Linked DNA regions of Homo sapiens: region 2 is linked to region 1. The links are contacts of gene promoters, found by promoter capture Hi-C in human tissues and cell types (Jung and others, 2019). All regions are on one chromosome and are shown on one strand. The core of a region is centred on a gene start or on the middle of the fragment in contact, and the rest is flanking DNA. Distances in the headings are between cores, read along the strand shown.

Evidence for each region. Contacts are between HindIII fragments. The study calls those that stand out against the background at their distance.
Region 2: a fragment that was not itself captured here is called in contact with the fragment with the promoter of ZNF471 in region 1 in 2 of the 25 tissues and cell types used here (dorsolateral prefrontal cortex and mesendoderm cells).

What each region holds. Positions count from the first base shown.
Region 1 is chr19:56,505,119-56,510,359 of GRCh38, reverse strand. It overlaps ZNF471 (zinc finger protein 471), which reads right to left and starts at 2,505. Exons shown (of 5, transcript NM_020813.4): 1 at 2,440-2,505. The HindIII fragment of the contact is 4,462 bases long and covers 1-3,997 here.
Region 2 is chr19:56,373,594-56,378,834 of GRCh38, reverse strand. It overlaps the pseudogene ZNF542P. Among named protein-coding and RNA genes, the nearest start is that of ZNF582, 17 kb to the left of the region's middle. RefSeq lists an enhancer at 639-1,838. The HindIII fragment of the contact is 6,401 bases long and covers 1-5,241 here.

The sequences.
Region 1 (5,241 bases), core at 1,256-3,755:
TCTCTCACACAACCACATCACTAGTCTTTCTCTCCCTCTTTCACACATATAAACATGATGGTCTCTCATACATACACATTCAATGGTATCTTTCAAAGAGGCCTCAGTTACTCAAATGCTCCAGTGTCTCACACAGATACACAAACACACTCTGATCTCTCATATTCCAACTGCTTTATCTCATGCACACAAAATACATACTGGTCACTCTCACTCCAATCTTTTTCATACTGTGATACACCCTCTCACAACCTACCAGTCCAGACAGAGACATACTCTAGTCTCTCACATACCCATTGGTCTCTCACACACTCACACCAACATACCCCAGTCTCTCCCAATCACTGAACTCTCAGTCTAGTCTCTTGCTTTTACTCAGACACACACATGATCTTTCTCAGACTCCAGGGAGCCTCATACTTGTTCATCTTTCACACAGGCACATCTATTTCTCTCACACATTGATATACCCTGGTCTCACACTCTGGATTCTCACAATCCAGTCCCTGATAACACACTCAGGTGACAAAGAGGAAAAACAAACTGTTTCTCCTACTCCACTCACACAACACAAAACAGTTCTAAGACCAGATGTGTGGGGATCTACACACACACACACACACACACACACACACACACACACACCAGGCAAGCAATAAGTTCTTCAGTGAATACCAGGTGGGTGACCTCTAGGGCAACCCAGTGAATACCAGGTGGGTGACCTCTAGGGCAACCCAATTCTGACACTATCTACCTGGAGACAGCATAAGATCCCACAGGTTGAGGGCTCAGCCCTACAAAATTGCTCCCCACTTCCAATGCCAGTTGCAAACCCCAGGTTGTTTTACTTGTGCTTCTGACTAGCTATAAATCGGGGTTCCTATGACCCCCTCCTTGCGTTCAATTAATTTGCTAGGGCAGCTCACAGAACTTAGGGAAACACGTTTGTAGTAATAAAGGATATTACAAAGGATGCAGGTGAAGAAATGCATAGGACAAGGTTATATAGGAAGGGGCTCATCCTACAGGAACCTCCAGTGTTCAGCTATCTGGAAGTTTGATGAACCCAGTCCTTTTGGGTTTTTATGGAAGCTTCATAATGTAGGCATGACTGGTTAAATCACTGACCACTGATGATCAGTTTAACCTGTGGCTCCCTTTCCTTTCCCTGGAGATTGAGGGATGGGGCAGGTAATCCCAACCCTCTAATCCTGCCTAGATTGTTCTTGTGACCATCCCTTACCGTGATCAACCTACAGGCTGCCAGCCCACCAATCATTAGCATGCAAAAAGACACTTAATACTTTGGAGATTCCAAGGATCTTAGAAGTCGTAAGCCAGGAAACATAACTTTGTCCTATACTTTGATCGCCTCCCTCTCTCTCACAAACTCATAACAACATAACCTAGTCTCACTCTTTGGACTCTCACAGTTTAGTCTCTTTCTCTCTCTCATACACACACACCAGCCTCTCAAGGAGCCTCACATAATGACTGGTCTTTCACACACAGCCACGTGCTCATCTCTCTCACACTCACTGGTCTCACGCTATGTTGTCTCTCACACACGAACACACCCTGGTCTCACACTCTGGTCTCTCTCAGTCTGTCAGACACACATAACACGGCCTCACACACTGACGGGTCTTTCACCCAAAACACCCATTTCTCACACTCACTGGTCTCCCTTTCACACATTAACATACCACAGTCTCACACTCTGTTCTTGCACAGTCTAGTCTCGCATACATGGTGATTCTTCTCTCTCTCGAACACACACCGGCCTCTCATTGAGCCTCACCCACCGACCGACCGGCCTTTCACACACAGGCACACGCCCATCTCTCACACTCACTGGTCTCTCACACTCCATCCAGCCCGTCTCACTCTCTCACACGAATACATCCTGGTCTCACGCTCTGGACACCTGGTCTGTTACACACTTACACACCCACACACCTCGCAACCTCTCACTGAGCTTCACACGCTCTCTTTCAAATGCAGGCACATCCCTATCTCTCTCACACTCACTGGTCTCTCACACTGGCCCGTCTCGCTCTGTCACACACGAACATACCCTGGTCTCACACTGGACTCTCGGTCTGTCACACACACACACACACACACACAGAAACCACACCCTCTCACGGAGCCTCACACTCTGACAGATCTTTTACACACAGGCACACCCCCATCTCTCCCACAGCTCACTCCAGTGGTCCCGCCGCCCCAAGCCGCCCCGAACGCCCAGCAGCCCCGAGCCGCGGCCTCCGCCCCGCAGACTCGAGTACGCGCGCCCCGCTGGCCTCTGGGAAATGTAGTCGTCCTGGGGACAGAGGACGCGGCTGGGCCTTCGCGACCCGCGTCGGAGCCGCCCGCCTCGCCTGCCCTTCCTGGCCCAGCCCTCGAGCTCGGACTCCCAAACCACCCAAAACAAACCCCCGGCCTCGTCTGGCACCCAGACGCTCTCATCCGAAGGACTCCGTGAGTCGACGCTGGAACCCCCCATCGCGCAGGCGCCAGCCTCTCTCCAGGGGTCGGACGAGAGGGGCGGAGACAAGGCGTGGCCTAGTGTTGAGGGGATTGTCCTCGGGCTGCTGAAGGAGTGAGAGGGACCTTAGAGCAGAGCGGGCGGTGCCTGCGCAGTGCGTGATTACGCGAGCCGGGCGTGGCCCAGGGTTCCGGCGGGTAAGAGCAGGAGTGTGCGCAGGCGCAAAGATTGCGCTCTCCCCCTCTCCTCGCCTAGAGACCAGAAGCGTCCCTAGTTACTAGTTCCTGGGGCCTGGGAGGGAAACGCGCGACGGCTGAGCCTTCGGTGTGAGTACGCGTGGGGCTTTGTGACGCTGTCTGTGCCTCTGTGATCGCGATGTCATTCGGAGCGCGGCCTTCTGTGCCAGTCCGTGGGAGTGTCATTATCTTTCTGTGTTAAGCTTATTTTGGAATAAGACAGCGACGAGGAACCCCGACCGTGTTGTGACTCTGGCGAATTAATACCTCTTTCAGCTGCAAATGGGAATGTCACTGATCAGAGGCAGTGAATAACACGACGTTTTTGGAACCAATCTGCTAGGCTTGAACCGCGTTCAGCCCCTTAACAAAATGGAAATGGTCCCCGTTTTAGGGGACTAGCCCTGACTAGGAGAACTGTAGAATTAGTATTGGAAGGTGAGACAAATAAGGAAAAGCAATTCAGGGGGATACAGCAGAGAAAAAAAAATCCCTGTCCTCTTATTATGTAATTTACTTTGAAGCGGAGAGAGACAAGCCACAAATTCATGAGTTAGATAAACAGTCTGATGAACAGTAAAAAGGGCTATGGAGAAATATAACTCAGAGAAGGTTGTATCGTATACATTTTTTCTATTGTCTCTTATAATGTCTTAACATGTCAAAAAAACCTGTCTGCAGCAGACACCAGCCAGGTGACCGCTACTCCAATTCAATTCTGACGCTACCTGGAAAACATCAGATCCTACAGGTTAGACAGCTCAGTCCCAAAAGACTGTCCCCCACTTCCCATGCCAATTCCAAACTCCAGATTGTTGTACCTGTGTTTCAGAGAGATGTGCTATAAATTGGGGCTCCCACAGCCGGCTCCTTGGGTTCCATTAGTTTGCTAGAGCAGCTCACAGAACTCAAGGAAACACTTATGTTTACTGGTTTATTATAAAAGATATTTTAAAGGATACAAATAGCCAGATGAAGAGACATGTAGGGCAAGGTCCGAGAGAATCCCTAGTGCAGGAACTTCTGTGCCCGTGGAGTTGGGGTGCACCACCCTCCCAGCACGAGGATGTGTTTTTGTCTACCTTCTTGGAAGCCGCTTGAACTCAGGCCTTTTCGGTTTTCAAGGTTTCATTATGTAGATGTGATTGATTAAATCATTGGCCACTGGCGATCAACTTAATTTTCAGGCTCTCTCTTTTCCCAGAAGTAGAGGGTGGAGCTGTGAGTTCCAGTCCTCTGAGCACATGGCTGGTTCCTCTGGCAACTAGCCACCACTCCCCCCAAATATTGGGATTATCTTGAGAGTTTCCAAAAATCACCTCATTAACATAAACTCATGTGTGGTTGAAATACTGTCTTTCACCTTTATGGCTCTGGAGCTGTTCTGGAGCTTTTTCAGGAACCAGGAACAAAAGGCCAGATATTTTAACAAAAGATACTTTATTGCTGCAGTCATTTAGGAAATTAAAAGAGCTGTAGGAACTGAGAGCCATGAACTGTACCTTTCTTTCTAACTCCACATTCAGTGATGTCATATTGGTAGATTGAAATCCACCACAAGGGGACTATTTACAGTATGGAAATACAGTCTACATCGCTAAAGGATGGAGATACATTCTGAGAAATGGGTTCTTAGGCAATTTCCTAAGAACCTTGTTGTGCAAACATCATAGAGTGTACTTACACAAACCTAGATTGTGTAGCCTACTACACACCCACACTCACTCAGACTGGGACAACTTAGACATACCAGTTAACTTACTGTGCACATCTTTGGGATGTGGGAGGAATCTGGAGTACCCAGAGAAAACCCATGGAGACATGGTGAGACTAGTCAGATTGCATTAGGACCCACCCTAACGACCTCATTTCAACTTAATTAACTCTGTAAAAATCCTATATCCAAATACAGTCACATTCTGAGGTACTGGGAGTTAGGACTTCAACATGCAAAATTTGGGGCAGACAAAATTCAACCAATAACAAGAGATTATTTTGATTCTTCTGTCCTCATTCATCCCACCAAGGAAGTAAGGGGTATTTCCATTATCATACTATATATTAAATTATCATTACATTACATATATAATGTTTTCTTTATCTAATTTTTACTTTATATATACCACATTTTTGTTCATGGGCCATCAAAGGTATTATCTCACATAATTCTTGTAAAAATAAAATTGAATAACTAACTTTACAGTTGAAGATTTAAACAATAAGGGACTTTTTCCAAAGCCACACATCTAATAAGTTTCAAAGGTATTACTCTAATTCAAGTTTCTTCTTTCCAAATTCAGAACTCTTTCCATCCTGTAACAGTGCACTATTTTTAAGCTTAACTCCTTTCTGAAGAATATCAAATTTAACAACAGTGTTGGTGACCAGGTGAATTTGGATTACAAATTAATTTCTGGGACAGAATATGATATTCTCAACTTTTGGAACTTCAGGTGAGAGTTGACCAGTTTTCCCCACAGGCTCCATGTGGTCAACGTTATTTGTTTAGAATTG
Region 2 (5,241 bases), core at 1,127-3,626, 130 kb after region 1:
CTCAGCATAGAATAAATAATACTTCTTAGAACATAAAAAGCAGAACTAGGTCAGGCACAATGGCTCATGTCTGTAGTCCCAGCACTTTGGGAGGCTGAGGCAGATGGACTGCTTGAGCTCAGGAGGTCAAGACAAGCCTGGACAACATGGTGAAACCTAGTCTCTACAAAAAATATAGAAATTAGGTGTGGTGGCACATGCCTGTAGTCCCAGCTACTTGAGAGGCTGAGGTGGGAGGATCACTTGAGCCTGGGAGGCAGAGACTGCAGTGAGCCATGATTGTGCCACTGCACTCCAGCCTGGGTGACAGAGTAAGACCCTGTCTGAAAAACAAATAAAAGCATAACTATTAAAAAATGTGATTAATTGGATGTGATCAAACTTAAAGCTTTTATCACTGTTATGTAAATGAAAAGGTAGGTTACAGAATAGAAAATATTTCCAAAATCTGGTGAACTCTCATAAATGCACCCGAAGAAAAACCTCTAATTTTTTTTTTTAATTATACTTTAAGTTTTAGGGTACCATGTGCACAACGTGCAGGTTTGTTACATATGTATACATGTGCCATGTTGGTGTGCTGCACCATTAACTCGTCATTTACATTAGGGGGAGGGGGGAGGGATAGCATTAGGAGATATACCTAGTGATAAACCTCTAATTTAAAAAATAATCTGCAAGGCTTCAACACACACTTCACAAAAAATACATATCAACAGTCAAGGGAAGGCATTTTTAAGTTAAATTAAAAGTGCAATGAAATATCATTCCATACAAACTAACAGAGCATATTTAAAAAGACTCAAAGTACAAAGTACTGGTGATGATACAGAATAATCAGAATTAACATTTTGAGTTTTGGTTATTTGCTAAATTTTCCATTACACATTCTACAGTGTCGAGTAAGGTGAGAGCTGCAGCTAAAGGACTTCCCGCATTGACTGCACTGAAAGGGTTTTTCACCAGTATGAATTCTATTATGTTGACAAAGTGTGGAGGAAGTATTAAAGGCCTTCCCACAGGCATGGCATGTATAGGGTTTCTCTCCACTGTGTGTTCTCTTATGAGTAACAAGGGAAGAGTGCGCACTGAAGGCTTTTCCACATTCCTTGCATTTATACGGTTTTTCTCCACTGTGTGTTCTCTTATGAGTAACAAGAGAAGAATGGGCGCTGAAGGACTTTCCACATTCCTTGCATTCATAGGGTTTTTCACCAGTATGAATTCTCCTGTGCAGAGTGAACTGCATCACACGACAAAAGGTCTTTTTGCAGTCCTTACATTGATATGGTTTTTCTCCAGTGTGAATTCTCCAATGTTCAATCAGGGAAGACAGGTGCACAAAAGATTTCTTACACTTACTACACTCATAGGGTTTTTCTCCAGAATGAGTTTTCTGATGTCTAATGAGCTGGGCACTTTGAGTGAAGGCTCTTCCACACTCCTTACATTCATACGGCTTTTCTCCACTATGAATTCGCTGGTGATCTATAAGAGCTGAGACACGGCTGAAGGCCTTTCCACATTCACTGCATTCATGGAACTTTTCTCTCGTATGTGTAGTCTGATGCTGTGTGAGATGAGTCATCTGGCTGAAGGTTTTCCTGCATTCCTTACATTTGTAAGGTTTCTCACCAGTGTGAATTCTCTCATGCTAGGTAAGGTGTGCCCTCTGGTTGAAGGTTTTAATACATTCGTTACATTTATAGGGTCTCTCTCCCGTGTGGATTCTTTGATGCTGAATGAGAGTTGATTGACGAGTGAAGTATTTCCCACAATCTAAACACTGATTGCATTTCTTTTGTGTATGATTTCTCTTATGGAGAGTAAGCTGCATATTGTGGCAGTATAGATTTCCACATTCCTTACATACGTTTCTTGTACATTTTATCACTGTGTCAAACTGCGATAATACTTCATTAATAGCCCTCTTTGCAGATAACTCCTTAATCTCTGCACCTGGCACATCTGAAAGGGGAAAAAAAATCAATGAACAGAAGCAAATTAAACTAATGTAATATACCTATCTTTTATCTTTTCAATCCCACTTTAGGCACCTACTCAAGAAACTAAGATACCAGTTTTTAAGGTTATATTGATAAGAATGCTTATTGAAATAGGCTTTATATTGGAAACAAACTAGGGGTCCCTCATCATTAACCATGGTATATCTCTATCTGTAGTATTACTTAGCTACTAAAAAAAGAGTGAACTTCAGCTGTTTTCTGAGCTGCAGGATAATGTATTAAGTGAAAAGGACAAGATGCAGTGTGCTAAGTTATACCACAAGTTTCAAAACACAAAAAGGTAAATGATAGTTTCTGTATGTATATGTATGCATTAACCAGAGGAATTAATGTGTCCAGACAGAAGGCATCTCCAATTATTTTACTGCAGAAACAATTTGACATAATATAGAAACAATAAAATCAATCATATAATCAGGGGCAGATAGGGTATGAATTCTCACTGATATAGACATTTTGAGATTAAAGAGATCGCTAAGCAAACAGGAAAAATAAGAGGGTCAAGTGAAGGCAGCAAGGAAACAGATTTAGAGCTTAAGAAAACATGTACTATGGGGAATTGCAGGGGCCAAAATGGCATTACAGGAAGACTGATCAACAGGATCAAAAATTAAAGAAAGGCAATAGGACTTGCTACAAAGACGAACATAATACCCTTCTAACCTGTAGTTGTTTTTACTGTTTAGGAGCTAAAGGGCAGAGGGGCAGAGATGCTGGCTGTGCTTGCTGTAAAAGAACAGAACAGAACCCCGGTCAATTATGGAAAATGACTGAGTCTGGCCTGTTTTTCATGCACTAAACATGTGGGAATCCCACTGTTTTTTCCAGATTATACTGTGTATGTAGACAGTGGAGAGGGCTAACCTCATTAAGGGTGCAAGAGGGGCTGGTTTTACAGGGGGCCTCTACTACGAAGGCCTAATGGTTTTGAAAATGAACTCAAATAAAAGATTATTACCAAATGTGACGATTCAAGCTCATTATTCTACATCCTTTTCACCATAGAAATATCCACTTTAGCAAGAACCATAAATTAGTCAGATATAAACTACCTTTCAACGTTGTCTTATCCTAACGTCTTGGTCTTACTTTGGTTACCTTTTCTTCATGAATAGTGAGGCCCTGGAATTCTAACACAGGATGTTTCCTGTTTCTCTTGCTACCAATCAATCAGTCCTTCTCTGCTATCTATAGGCAATTCATTTCTTCCATTCCTAAGGGTCCATCACCACAAAACATATAAAAAACACATTCATCTCCAATTCTGAATTACTATTGAGATCCAGCTACATATTTGTAACTCACAGTTCAAGACATACCTTAATTCCAACAATTCCTTAAATAAATATATCACAAATGTACTTCATTTCCTCACTTTCTATAACTTTAAATATCACCCAGTTTTGAAACTAAAACTTTACTAACTCCCACACATCAAAATAAACCATTTTAATTAGTTTCTACTAGTTAATTAGTTTCTACTTTGCACAAGGTTTGTGGAAGCAAGTCTTAATCCCCTCACTCAAATGTAAACTCACTGCAAGTTTCTATACTTTTAAACAAACTCAGAAAAGAACACAGCAGGCTTTGAGACTGTTCTCCTTAGAAAGGTGTGCTTACAACGTTGGCCCCTGACTGACCTCTAAGGAACTTGGATTTCATGAGGGTTTCTACCATTCCCGGAACTGGTACAAGTGGCTTACTGTGCCTAAGCTATTTGTGCAGATGATGTGGTTTATGCGGAACACCTACTTTCCTTCTGAGATTCTGGATTTTTAGCATATACTCGGCAGAGGGTACCTTTATGGCTTCCCTAAGTAAATTCCTTGGCACTAAGTCTAATGTTGTCTAGCTGCTATTATCTCACACATACCACACAAGTTGCTGCTAGAGGAATTAAGTACCTCCTGTGTGACTCCCCTGGGAGAGGAATCTCGGAAGCACATTCCTGATTTCCTCCAGACTTTGCCTTATGAGCTTACCTTTGCTGATTTTGTTTTATATCTTTTGCTAAAATAAATCTTAGCCATTGTGTAGTAAATAATTTAACCTTTTCCAAAGAGAGTTCTAGTCTTTGCCTTTGGCTCCTGGGAGATGGTCATCTCTGACACCTTGAAATATCCTGCAAGATAAAAGTGTCTCTATTTACCTATGGGCGTTGGACCACACCAGATAATCAAACTATGTGATTTATGTGGGGCTTTGGGTCACATGATATTAGGGTGACCTTCAGAGGAGCTAGAGATTGAGGTGAGACATTAGCAGTCAGCCATGTCTACATGATGGTGCCCTAATGAGGAGTCTGGATAACAAGGGTCAGATAGGCTTCCTTGGTTGGCCACACACTGTGCATACTGCCACACATCATTGTTGGGAGGAGTTAACACTGTCCATGACTCCACTGTGGGGGCATAAATGGAAGTCCTCCGAGACTCTGCCCCATGTCTTTTTCCTCGGCTGATTTTTAATGTGTATCCTTTCATGGCAATAAACTCTAACCATGAGTGTAACAGCTTTCAGTGAGTTCTGTGAATCCTTCTAGTGAATTATCAAACCTGAGGGTCATCTTGGGGACCTTTGGATTTGCAATTCGTGTCAGAATTCAGGGTGGTCTTGGGGACCCCCATACTTTGCAGCTGGCATCAGAATGATGGTGTTCTTCTGGACTATTCACTAACTTTGCAGGCATGAATACAATGATATGATGACTCCTGTGACGACTCCTAGTAAGTCCTTGAACCTGGGGGTGGTCTTGGGGACTCTCAACAGTTGACTAGTTTTAAAAATGGAATTAATGTTAATGAATAAATGACCAATGAATACACCCATTCAAACAATCAGACCACTATATAAGTCATCTTACAGTAAAGAAAACAATATCAAAGAGTCAAATAAAAAAAAAGTCATGAGAAACAGGATCCTGAATTTAAAAGGAAGCTTACCATAGACAAAGAGGAAAGACACACCTGTAATTTCTGAGCCCACAGGCATTTATAAAAGCAGATATAAATGGTGGGTGATCAGTACCCTTTTAGGAACTCAAACTCAAGGAGCCTCAATTTCTACATACGTATGGAACATTGGAAGAGAGCATCTTTCACATCTTAAAGGTGCTTTGCCCTCTAGACCTGGTATGCCTTTCATATACATGGCTTACCCCCGCTAGTTGGTTCTTCATACTCACCTGGCAATGGGCCTCTTATCTCTTCTTTTG